Regions from separate parts of the Homo sapiens genome. Here region 1 is linked to region 2. Evidence: promoter capture Hi-C in 16 types of primary human blood cells and fetal thymus (Javierre and others, 2016). All regions are on one chromosome and are shown on one strand. Each heading gives the region's core, a stretch centred on a gene start or on the middle of the fragment in contact. The rest is flanking DNA. Distances are from core to core; before and after follow the strand shown.

Evidence for each region. Contacts are between HindIII fragments. The CHiCAGO score rates a contact against its expected background, and 5 or more counts as called.
Region 1: a contact is called between a fragment that was not itself captured here and the fragment with the promoter of ZC3H6 in region 2, in 1 of 17 cell types (naive CD4 T cells). The highest score is 5.2, in naive CD4 T cells.

The regions. Positions count from the first base shown.
Region 1 is chr2:112,312,261-112,318,927 of GRCh38, reverse strand. It overlaps ZC3H6 (zinc finger CCCH-type containing 6), which reads right to left. Exons shown (of 12, transcript NM_198581.3): 6 at 2,342-2,458; 7 at 1,596-1,707. Among named protein-coding and RNA genes, the nearest start is that of ZC3H6, 40 kb to the right of the region's middle. The HindIII fragment of the contact is 4,769 bases long and covers 1,009-5,777 here.
Region 2 is chr2:112,274,347-112,280,617 of GRCh38, reverse strand. ZC3H6 (zinc finger CCCH-type containing 6) reads right to left here and starts at 5,021. Exons shown (of 12, transcript NM_198581.3): 1 at 4,592-5,021. The coding sequence starts at 4,623. RefSeq lists a silencer at 4,252-4,731 and enhancers at 4,922-5,131, 4,747-5,319. The HindIII fragment of the contact is 12,828 bases long and covers 3,372-6,271 here.

The DNA of each region.
Region 1 (6,667 bases), core at 2,144-4,643, 40 kb before region 2:
ATCATATCAAAAGGCATTTAATATCTGGTTGTTTCTTTTTAGTAATGTTAAGACTGATCAGTCCTTTCAGGTGTTGTCAGCTCCATCCATCAGTTGTAAAGTTCCTAATTAACTTTTCACCTCATGATTTTAGCAGCCATCAGTAATCACTGCCCAGGTCTATTGTGGAGAAACTGCAAAACGTGGGATTGCTGGGTCAAAGGGTAAATGCATATTGCATTTACCAAGCTCTCCTCCATAGGAATGCACCATTTTGACATTGCCAGCATCAAGGTCTTCTCACATCCTTGCTAACAAACTTCACTGTCACGATTTTTTTATTTTTGCAAACGTGACACAGCTGCAAATGTTATCTCAGTGTAGCTTAAATTACATTCCCCTTATTAGGAACAAGATTGAACATCTTTCTGTATGTTTTGGGACCATTTGCATTTCTCTTTCTGGGAATTATCTGTATCTCTTCCCTCATTTTTCTTCTCAATGTTTAGAAACTCATATATTAAGGATATGACCTCTTCGTAAGTGATATAAATTACACATAATCTTTCTCACTTCATTATTTATCTTATTATTTAGCTCATGTTATATGTATTTGTTTTGCAAATGCAAGCTTTTTCATGGAGTCAAAATTTCAATCTGTTCCCTTTTTGCTTCTGGATTTTGAGACAGGAAATTTTTCTGTTCCAATTCATCATGTATTCCTCTGGTAATTACATCGTTCCATTTTTTGACATTTTGATCTATGATAACAGGCATTTTTCATTTTATTCACTTTCTTTTTTTTCACATTTTTTAAACACGACAACAGAATTTAAAAATTTATCTGGAAAAATAAACATCAGAATCTACCAAATATTACCGTGGCTGTTGTGGCAGAAATAATCACAGCAAAGCAAGACAGACATGAGGGTGAACAAATCCATGGAGCCAAACACGAAGTCCAGAAGAAAAATCCATATATGTAAACATTTTGTCTGTGATAGAGTTTCAATTCTGTGGGGGAAAGCTTCATTAGTCATAAGTCGTAGTGAGCAACCTGACAGATATTTGGGGGAAAATTAACATGGAAAAATTGCAGAATACATTTTTTTAAAGGACCAGAACACTATATATAGTGAAATTCCAATTTGGGTAGGAGCAGGAATACAATTTAAATGTATATATTTCCCAAGGGAGAGTGGGGAAGAATATACAGCATCTATCATTGAGTGGTAAGATTTGATAAGACTTATAATCTTCACAATGATAATTTTTTACTCCCGAACTTAAGTAAAATAATTATGGAATAAAATAAGTATTTTGCCAACTACTCCTTCAGGAAGCACAATCTCTTGAAATACTTTAAGCTGATTATATTAAAGTACCTTCCCTTCACAGAATTTTTTCCAAAGGGCAGTTATCTCATTTCCCTAAAGAATAAAGGTCAGTTTGCTCTTTTGAAGTACAAAGTTTGACTAGACTGGGTTTATGTAATGTGTTGTTTTAAATTTAAAACCAAACTAGGCTTTATAGGGTGTATTTATTATTTTTTAAAACCTCAATGATGCTTTAAAACCCCAGCATTTTATTTAACATACATTTTAAATAAAGGATATTATGCATATAAATGCAGTTCTCTCCTTTGGTACAATATCCTTGTAAATAAAATTTGCAGATCTCTTTTCTTTTCTCCAACTCTGCATCATGATCAAATTTACACTGATCTCCCTATTCACAAAAAAAAAAAAAAGAAAAAAGAAAAAAAGGTAAGAAACAATGAGAAACAAAGAAACAACAGCTGAATTTTCTACATGGTGTCTCATGGTAAAATTATGGTCATTATCTTCAGTCTTTAATAATGAACAAATAATAACTCAAATGACCCCTTAGAATTCCTGCCCAAGACAGTGGATGTAGCTACATGCATTAAGGCAGCACAGTGAGCAAGACCTCACAGGATACTGCCTGAATTGGCAACCAGCACTCACCATTTCTTGCTGAGCTACCATGGGAACTTACTTAACCTCTTGGTGCCATGAATAAAATGGGGATAATAACATTAACTACTTTGTAGGGTCACTGTAGGATTAAATCATTTAATATTAGTTGTACTTTGAACAGTACTTGCCACGTAGCATTATGTGTCTTTTAAACAAATCCGATTTCAACAAATTATGTTATTGTCCCAGAACATAATTAAATGAGCTCTAATGTACGGTATTTCCATGCAAGATACATTTTAAAGACCCAGTTTTATTACAACTATATGAGAAGAGAAAAAAATTAACCATCCCCCAAAAGACTTTAATTTTAAAGATTATTTTGGAAGTTAAAATGACTTATGATACCTCTATAAATTTACCTTAATACACCTCCCTTCCAGGAAGTATTTACAGATTTGTTTTCCTTTGTGTTCCACTGTGTGCTGATTAATAAATTCCTGAGTCATAACCTTCCATTTTTTCCCTGGTTTATTATACTGCAAGAAAAAAATTCCATTTGAATGCAGCATATGAAATATTAATAGGTATCAAAATGTATGATTAAGTTGATCTGGAAAAAAGTACAAATTGACTACAAAAAGTGATCAAGATTGAACATTCTGATGCTATTCATTTATTTGGAGAGAGATATGTGTCTAGTAATCTACTTATGCTACTAGTGATCGCAAAAAAAAGCCTATTTCTTTCTATTTTAATGAAGATGAATAACTTTTTAAATAAAATTATAAAAAGTTTAAAAATTCACAATTCTCAATTTGGGCAAAGACACAATAAAATATGCACTCATATTATTGATAGGTATGTTATAAAAGACTTTAAAATATCCATATTGTTTGACATACAACTTGTACTTTTTGGGATTATTTTGAAAGAATTATCAGGGAGACACAAAGATCTAGTCATATAATAAAATACTGACATAGTAAAACAAACAGCAAAACGAGAAACACTCTACACATTTAAAACTAGAAGACTGGTCAAATATATTATGATACACTTAGGTGGTAGAATATTATGCAGTCATTAAAAAATCAACAACTTTGGATCATAAAAACTGTTTACAGATCAGGCATGGTGGCTCATGCCTGTAATCCCAGCACTTTGGGATCATTTGAGGCCAGGAGTTTGAGACCAGCCTGGCCAACATAGTGAAATCCTGTCCATACTAAAAATACAAAAAATTAGCCAGGTGTGGTGGCACACACCTCTGTAATCTCAGCTACTTGGGAGGCTGAGGCACGAGAATCGCTTGAACCTGGGAGGTGGAGCCTGCAGTGAGAGCCAAGATCACGCCACTGCATTCCTGCCTGGGCAACAGAGTGAGAGTGTCTCAAACAAACAAACAAAAAAAAAACAAAAAAAAAGTTTACAATATTTTATGAAGTAAAAAATTGATCCCAATTCTACAATAATAAATAAAGGCAAAGGAAAAAAGACAAAAAGAATATACCCCCATATTTTACAGTGTATGTCTCTGGATGGCAGGATTAGAGATTTTATGTGTGTGGTTATTTTGTACTTTCTTTAGGGGAAAAAAAGGGCAAACAAACAGGCGGCGTGTATTACTTTTAACTTTTAAATATAAAAAGTTAAGAAAAAAACTTAAGAAAATTAAAGGAAAAGAAATCTTATAGCCCTACTTGTTTTCCTTACTTCTCCTGAGTCCCCTATTCAACTTCTGCTTTAAGTATAAGATTAAGTAACAAGGCAGAGTATGATGCTTAGCCATGCTAAATGTAATGAGTTACATTCATCAACTCTAAAAAACAACATTATTTTTCATGCACCTGGCATGCACTGTGCCCTGTATATCATAGGAGTTCAATGACTATTTACTCTTCTGATTTGATTTCTGTTTTCCCTTTTCTCTTAATTTGCTAAAAGATAGAGCATAAAGTTCAATCTACTGAAAACAAGAGATTGCCTCACAGCAAACATTGAGGCAATAGATGTCTAAATTGAAATCTGATCCCCAGCATTCACAGCTCAAATCACATTTTACTGTAAGAATTCTAAAAAAGGTACAAGAATACAAAGTAAACAGATAATCCTAGAGATTCGTTTTAAAAATATAAACATACCTAATTTACCCCAGGAAAACACAATGAAATTGCTTATAATATACTATGACAGAATCATTTAAAGTGTCTCAAATCTATATAAATTTGATTCACAAACATTTTTATGTTTAGAGATTCGTTTAGAATAAGCAGATATAAATGACCAGCTCACATAGGCATTCTATACAAAGAATCATGGCTGTTATAAAATAAAATAAACAGCCAAAGAAAGTAAATTATGCAAAAATCAATGAGCAACCTGAGGAATATAACTCTGAAATTAAAAAGTAAAAAAATTAGGTAATCACACACACACACACACCCTGAAAAATGCAACAAGTTGTACTTAGCGTTTCATTAATAACTTACTCTTTCTGTATACATTACTTCCAAATAATGTTTCATTGTTTTAATAGAGGATTGTGGTGAGGAAGTGTTTTGTTTTGTTTTTTAGTTTAGTTCCACTTAAATGAGTAGAAAGTATGTCAGTGTCCACAGCTATGGGAAACCTGACTATAATCAAGGTACTATAGAAAATCTAAAGCAACTTTAACAAATAAATTTTTAGGGCAAAATTAAGTGCCCAGAAGATATGGTGAGTTAGCAGACTGACAGAACTCAGGAATTGTGCCTTGCAACTCCTCCTATATTCTTTGCATTACAAGACAGTACTGCGAATAAAAAAAAATACAAGAATGAAGGAGAGAAAGAGGGAGAGATGGAGGGAGAAAAAAAACCAAGCTACCTACTGTACTTGGTCATTTTAAAACTTATTTACTTTAGAAGATATATTGATACAAGAGACAAGAGCATAAAATATTAATATATATCAGGTAGAGGAAATGTAAGGATCTACCAGGAAAATAATATTTATTACAAAAAAATGTAATAGGTACAGTAAATACTAAAACAATTTAAGAGTATTATGGCCAATAAAATGAAGAAGCCTTTAAAATTCAGTGAAAGTTTGCTTCTTTGTGACTACTCTTGATTTTTCAAAAAAATTATGATGAATCTGAAGGTACCCCGAATTGATTTGGCTTTGGAGACTCTCATAGTCTCTGAAAGGCCTAGGACAGAGACGGATCTATCTTGGCCACTCTGCTGTGGCCTCCATGTTCATGCTATTCTGGATGGGCCACCTGCAGACCATTCCTGAACATGAACTGCTTCCGTGGGCTCTGGCACACTCCCAGTTGTTTCTGGAATCATAAGAAATGTCTCTCGTGATAGCCAATAAATTGACATGACTGATAATGTATTTTTATCTTTATTTTTCTGTTATATGATTATCTTTTAGGTATAGCCCAGATCTACAGACATCTAAAATGCTGTGCTTGATGGGGCCCTTAGAGTTAACTTAATACTATACCCTCATTTTGCAGATTAAGCAAATTGAGGCAAAGAGACAGGTATAACTTGCTCAAAGTCACACTTTCCTGGAAGCTAATTTTGTTTAAAGGTATAGGGTGTAAGAACTGGGTATAGGTGCAGGCTTACTTAGAAAGCATTTGTATTAGTTTGGGTTAGGGAAATCAGCATATTCTAAAGGTCTACTGGTGTCTAAGAAGATGACAGGCAGGTTTTTAGTCACCCCAAAATTCTAAAATAATAACCATAGTAATTCCAAAGCTGCTGTTCCATGGAACAGTGAGTGGCTCAGTGAATGTTAGTAGGTGTGTAGGGAAAAAAATAGTTTGTAGTTGAGTAAATGATGGGTTGAACAAAATAAGCTTCTTTTTGCCTAAGCTGCTCACAAGCTTTACTACATTAATGTCAACTGAGAATCTCCAAAAGCAGATGGCATGTGCTGGGTTTCGCAAATTTATTTGGGTCTGACCTTCTTTTTTTAGGTCACACCTGTTAACATCTCCTGAAACAGTATACTAAGGAGTGCATATTAAGAAATCTCTGCCCACTATCTTTAAACTGAGAGATCAGAAAACCAAGCATTTTCAAATTATAGTATATAGCTATCCCTCTCAGCTCTCACACAAAGTTGCAGCTTTTTTTTTTTTTTTATTTTGAGATGGAGTCTCGCTCTGTCACCCAGGCTGGAGTGTAGTGGAGCCATCTTGGCTCACTGCAACCTCCGCCTCCTGGGTTCAAGCGACTCTTCTGCCTCAGCCTCCCGAGTAGCTGGGACTACAGATGTGCACCACCACATCCGACAAATTCTTGTATTTTTGTAGAGATGGGGTTTCTCCATGTTGGCCAGGCTGGTCTTGAACTCCTGACCTCAGGATCTGTCCGACTTGGCCTCCCAAAGTGCTGGGATTACGGGCGTGAGCCACTGTGCCCAGCCAAAGCTCCAGCTTTTAATGACCCACTATTGCCTCTATAATTCAATCAAATCTTACTAGAACAGTAGTAGAACACAGGAATTGGACCACAGTAATCCAGGGAGTCACTACAAGGTTAAAAGTTCATGTTCAGAGTTCAACTCAATTTGACATATATTTATTGAATATCTACAACATGTAACATACATAAGTTCACCTTTCCAACCATTTATATCCCCCTTTCTTCTCTTTCAATCTTTTCAACTCTAAAAAGGAAGTTAATTTACCACTGCCTCCCTTCTTGTCCCCCCTACATATTGAGCTATTAGCACTTCATTGCCAG
Region 2 (6,271 bases), core at 3,772-6,271:
ATAGTACTTGTGCTATACTATGTATTTACCAATCTGTTTCTGCAACTAGATTATAAGATCCCAGAGAGCAAGTTCATGATGTTGTGTCCAGAGTTCTTTTGTCAGTGCTTAACACTATACTTAGCAGAGACGAAACACTGTTAAGTCTGAGGAATGAAAATGTAATGAATGAAATTTTATAATGAATGAAATATTTGTTTATGAGAGGTTGGGGGAAAAAAAGAGTCTTCCTGAGAGTCAGAGTGCTTTACAACATCAAACCTGAGACCTGATACGAGGTTTTACATTTGCTAAAGAAAAATTTCCTTTAGTAATTTCAACAATAGTTAAATTAGTGGATTCAGGAATCAGAAGTAAGTTAATGGCTAGTCAGGAAAGTTATTTACTCCACGGAACATACTAATTTACAAACCAGATATTGTGTGGAGCAAAAAGTGTACTCTAATCTGAGAAAAGGCATCTGCAATTTTTTTAATTAAAATTGATTTAAGTGGGAAGGAAAATTGAAAATGATCTAGTGCAACTACTTCATTTCACAAATGAAAAAAATAATGAAAAGGGGAAGAGCATTAACCCAAGTTAGAAGATCAGGATCAGTACCAAGGTTTTATTCAAAATGAAGGGCTCTCTCTCAAATGTAGCACATTACAATTCCAAACTACTCAAGGATTAAAGCCCAGAACTTATTCCATTACTTTGCTGTGCAAACTTAATGAAGAGTGAAGATAATATTGCAAGTAGGAAAATAATATTGCAAGACTGAAAATAATAATACCTGGGTTCTTATCTAGGTTGTATTTATGAGATCTCAGACAATTCACTGAACCTTGTAATGCTACCTTAATTAACTACCACATGGGATTAATGTGAGAATCAAATGAAAGCCCTGTTGCAAATGAAAAGTATAATCATCTTTTCCATCCTCATCCTTTCAGGTTCTCCAGTGCAGTCTCTTAGCAAGTTTTCAATCTATATGGGGGGCCATAAACCACTTGCAATTCTGACTAGTTGGAGTTTTGTTGTTCTTGTAGTACAGGACAGAAAGCTGCGAGGGAAGGGTGGGGAGGTTGTTTATGTATTATAAACCTCCTCCCAAAGGGGAGTATTATCCATATCACCTATCAGTTAAAGACTCTTTGAGACTCACAAGCTCTTAAAAGGTTCATGCTAAAAAATTATCTTTTTCCCCAGTACAAGCCCTACAAAACCTTTTACCATTAGTATATTTCAGAAAATTCTGTAACAATTACTTGGGTTATATTTATCTTTTCCTACTCTACTACAGATGTGTCCAAAGCAGGGACTCATAGTATTTCGTCTTCAGGAGTTGTGAATTGTTTTAATTGGGTCAACATCCAGTTGAAATATAAAACTGAGCGGCTGGAGTCGTGCCTGAGAGAACTGAATGAAAAAGAACTGAACGACGAGAGACCAGAATTATACCTCCCTCTGATTTCCCTAAATCCCTAAAGACCTTTAGAAACTAGGCTCTGGGCTTATGCAAAAGTCCTCTACTACATTCTACATAGCCACAAGTAGAATTAGAAGTATTTTTATATTAATAACATCTTATAAAATACAATGTTTTAACTCCAGGTGTGAAAATATTTAAAGGAAAGTACACTAAATGGATTTTTTTTAAATTATTCATTTGGCAAACAATCTTGTGCAAAATGTTCACTATATAACATGTACAAGGCCAGGCGTGGTGGCTCACGCCTGTAATCCCAACACTCTGGGAGGCTGAAATGGGAGGATGGCTGGAGCCCAGGAGTTCAAGACCAGCCTAGGCATATAGCGAGACTCTATTTCTTTAAACGAGAAAAAAATTATGCATTCTGTGAATTCCATTTACATTTAGAATCTCATTCTCATAAACAGTAATATTTTAATTTGTATAAAATCAAAGCAATTGTAAATATAAATCATAGGCTTCATTTTTTTTCCTGCATACACAATATGCCTTAATTTTTGAAAATGTTATAAAAAGAATATCCTTGGCTGGGCACAGTGGCTCACCCCTGTAATCCCAAAACTTTGGGAGGCCAAGGCTGGTGGATCACTTGAGGTCAGGAGTTCAAGACCAGCCTGTCCAACATGATGAAACGTGGTCTCTACTAAAAATACAAAAAATTAGCCAGGTGTGGTGGCGGGTGCCTGTAATCCCAGCTACTCAGGAGGCTGAGGCAGGAGAATGGTGTGAAGGCGGGAAGTGGAGCTTGCAGTGAGCTGAGACAGTGCCACTGCACTCCAGCCTGGGCGACAGAGCGAGACTCCGTCTCAAAAAAATAAAATAAATAAAATAAAATCCTTGAGACAAAGCCTAGCTCCATATACCAAGTTTCATATATTTTTCTCCACTTAATTCACAGAAACTTTTATAACAGCATAAAATAGCTATTATATGGAAAGATACAGTATTTTGGAAGCCCGCAGATTAGTCCATTTTTTCCCCAAATTTCTTAAGAATTTCCCAGGGAGCCTATGAAAAATACCCTAGAGATTCTGATTCAGTTGCTCTGGGCAGAACAAAAATTTATTCCCCAAAGTGATTCTGATGATTAACTATCATTGGGAAACACTGATCGAGTATAGCGGTTCTCAATTTGGCACATATTAGAATTTCCTGGGGAGCTTTTAGAACTCTTAAAACCCAGGCTGAGGTCCAGACCAACAGAAATAGCGCCAATACTTTAAAGAAAAAAAGTTCCCCAGGGAAGGTTTAGAACCATTGATCTGATCTTGTAGAATTTCTCCTGACTTCTAGTTCACTTTGTTTTTGATGTAGTTGTTTTGTTTTTCATGTGGGTTGACAAAAAAAGCATGAAAAAAAAAAACCATCTCCTTCATCTCAGCACAATGATGCCACTTAACAATTGGCTAAGTTAAAGTGGAGCTAACCTTTTTGTTTCAGAAATCACTAGAAAATACTTTTAGTCCGAATTTTAAATAAAATAGACTAATCTTAATCTTTAGCTCCTACTACCAACCTATTAACATATCTTACAAATAATTCTTTAAAGTTTTCTAACCTCTAAACCAGTATTTTAAAATTTCAAATTCTTTAAAAGGTCTGTCATCACAGTTCCTTACCAGCAAAATTATTTTGATACTTGAATTTGATGGCATTGTTTTTTCATGATGTACAATACATAACTCCATATATAGAAGTTACTTTGTGCACTAAGAGAGGGGAACAGATATTCTTCCATATTAAAAAAAAAAAGGATTTTAGGCTCCATTAGCAAAACCCCATCATTGGTTTGTCCATACCTCAAGAGCAAGGTATTAGTCAACCCATTCTAAGAATTTCCTTTTTAATACAAAAGATAACGTTAAAAAAATCATTAAAAATGTGCCAAGTGCAAGCTTATCATTTTTAAAAGTGCATTTTACTTTCCAAAAATTTTTACACTTTGATTGACGTGCCCTCTGGGAATCTACTTTTATTATTACAATACTGAAGTTGTTGAAATACCATTTTTATCCCTCTCAAGATTGCTAGGTATTTAGATATTTCAAATTTCAGCAGTGTTTGTGATTTTTGCTTCTGGGTTTTAAAAAACGTGTTTAGGATGCTTTACCAAGCCGATCACATTACTACAGATAAAACTTCAGCAATGTATATAGTCTATAGTAAAACGTATATTTTTTCTTACTTCTATTCACAAAGGAGTAATTGTGAGGTTCTAGATTTTCAAATTAATATTCTAAGTAAGAATCAGATGCAATGGATTTTGTTTCAGTAAGTTTAATGAATGAAAGCCCCCCTTTCGCATTATTAAAGATATATACGAATGAAAATTTGAATTATAACCAAAATTTAAGTATGCTACAGTATACTTTGTAAATGTCCCCAAACTCGAATGGAAACAAGAATGTGCCTCTTAAGGCACAGAGCAAAAAATAAAAAATCAGAATCTCAATATTCAAGTGATACACACCATCTAGAAAATTGGGCTAGCCGGAATAATCCATGGAGTTTTTACGTTAGGGTAAAACTGTGCTAAACTAAGTTTCTGCAAAGCCTAAGTATTTTGTGTTAACATATTAAACTTGAAACTTGCCATCTCAAATTCCAAGGGATAAGACTGTATACAACAGATGGCCTTTTGGTGCTGCTTAAAACTTCCCTGAAAACCAAATGTTTATTTTTTTAGAGGTGTTCTCGGTTCTCGGGAAGCAGTCAAATATCAAAACACCCATTCCTGAAAATTCCTGGCTGGTCCTATCTGGCCGGGAGCACCGACACCTGGACGGGCAGAAGCAGGACCTCAGCACCGAGCCGGGACGCTGAGAGCCGCCCGGCGCACACGGAGCCCGCCCGGGGGGCGGGGGGCTCGCACGTGCCCGGCCGGGGGCGGGGCCGGCGCTGGCGAGCAGCGACCCCGGCTCGGGGAGGCGGGCGCGGCCGGGCCGACCTCCCCCGCGGCCGCGATCCAGCAGTTTACATAAGAGTGCGCGTCATGGAACTGACGGAGCCACACAGAGACGTCTAGGTCATGCAGGAGGCGCCCGGCCCCGGCCCGCTCCCGCCGCCCCAGACCCCTCCTCTCATCCGACAGAAAGACAGACAAGAAGGGTTCCCGACCTGTCGTGCCCTGCATGTTCAGAGTCTGTCATGTTTGGTCAAGAACGGGGCGGGGCTGGAGGGCAGGTCTGCGAGGCCGGCGGCGGCGGGGCGCGGGGAAGACCCCCCGCGCCGCCTGCGGGAACCTGCTCCCGGCCGCCGCCGACAGGTGACGAAGTGGTAAAAACTCACGGTTACTAGTGAGCGACACAGACACAGACTTTCCAGTCTATTAACAACCACGCCAGAGAGATGGGGCTCTAACTGCAAACACTGGGCAACGGCCCCGCGCTGCCGGCGCTGCCGCTCTAGTCTCTATTCGCCGCCGGTGGCTGTGGCGTGGGAGCGGGCGGGCGGCGTGCAGCGACGCGGGGATTTGGACAGTGGCCGTAACGGTGATTTCTCCTCACCAACATGGCGGCACCCGAAACAGGCGGCTCGAGAAAATGGCGCCGGCCGCAACACCTTGCCCGGGACTAAAGGGCAAGAGAGATTCCTCCGCGAGCCGCGGCCCTTGCCCAGCCCGCCGGGGCCGAGCGCGTTGACCATTGGAGGAGAGTGCCCGTCAATCACCTGCAGGGGCGGGTCTTCGCCCTTCTCTGTGCAGCGGCGGAGGCGGCAGCCTAGTGGCGGGGCCGGGCGGCGAGAGACGCGGCCGGATGGCTCCTCGAGTGTCTGCAGGAGGGGGAGGCAGCCCACGGGACCTACGAGGGCCACCAGCGCTTCTGCTCCCGGCGCAGTACGGGCCGCGGTTTTTCCTGCGAGACGCCCGCCGCCCGAGGAGTTCCAGACGCACCAAGCAAACGGGCCCCAAAACCGTTAGCCGAGGCGGGCAGGGGTGGGATAACAAAGAACAAGGCGGCTGTAGAGTCCTTAAATTTTTTTGTGAAAACCTTTGTTCTTGTAATAATAGGGAAATGCAGTTTCTCCTTCACAGTTGTAGCAAGTATCTGTTTTTGTAACGTTTAGTGTTCAGAATCATGTTTTAAGGAAAATAGCTTGCCATGCAGTTTTTTCTTGTATTTGCTGTTAAATTTACCCAATTATTACTTAAATAGGAATAGCTATTGAAATAATTATATAAACGTTACTTTATTTCGTAATAATATTAACATGTAAAATGTATGCGAGTATTTTATAAATACTATTAGGCATGCCTTTTTTTTTTTTTTTTTTTTTTTTTTTTTTTTTTTTTTCTGAGATGGAGTCTCCTCTGTCGCCCAGGCTGGAGTGCAGTGTCGCGCTCTCGGCTCACTGCAACCTCTGCCTCCTGGGTTCAAGCAATTTTCCTGCCTCAGCCTCCCGAGTAGCTGGGACTGCAGGCACGCGCCACCACGCCTGGCTAATTTTTGTATTTTTAGTAGAGATGGGGTTTCCCCATTTTGGCCAGGCTGGTCTCGAACTCCTGACTTCAGGTGATCCGCCCTCCTGGGTCTCCCAAAGTGCTGGGGTTACAGCCGTGAGCCACCGCGCCCGACCATGCATGAGTTTTTTATACTTATGAAGTGACCTTAAAAAATTTTTAAATGACAAGTCAGTGTTTTGGCCTATTTAATATATTAGTCCTGAAGGAAAGTTCCTTGCTTTTTACTAAAATGATAGACTCAATGATTAATCCAAATATCTGACTTAATTTGTCTTTCCTTAATAATACATTTTACTAATACATAAATGGAATGCATTCAAAAACAATTGCAATGA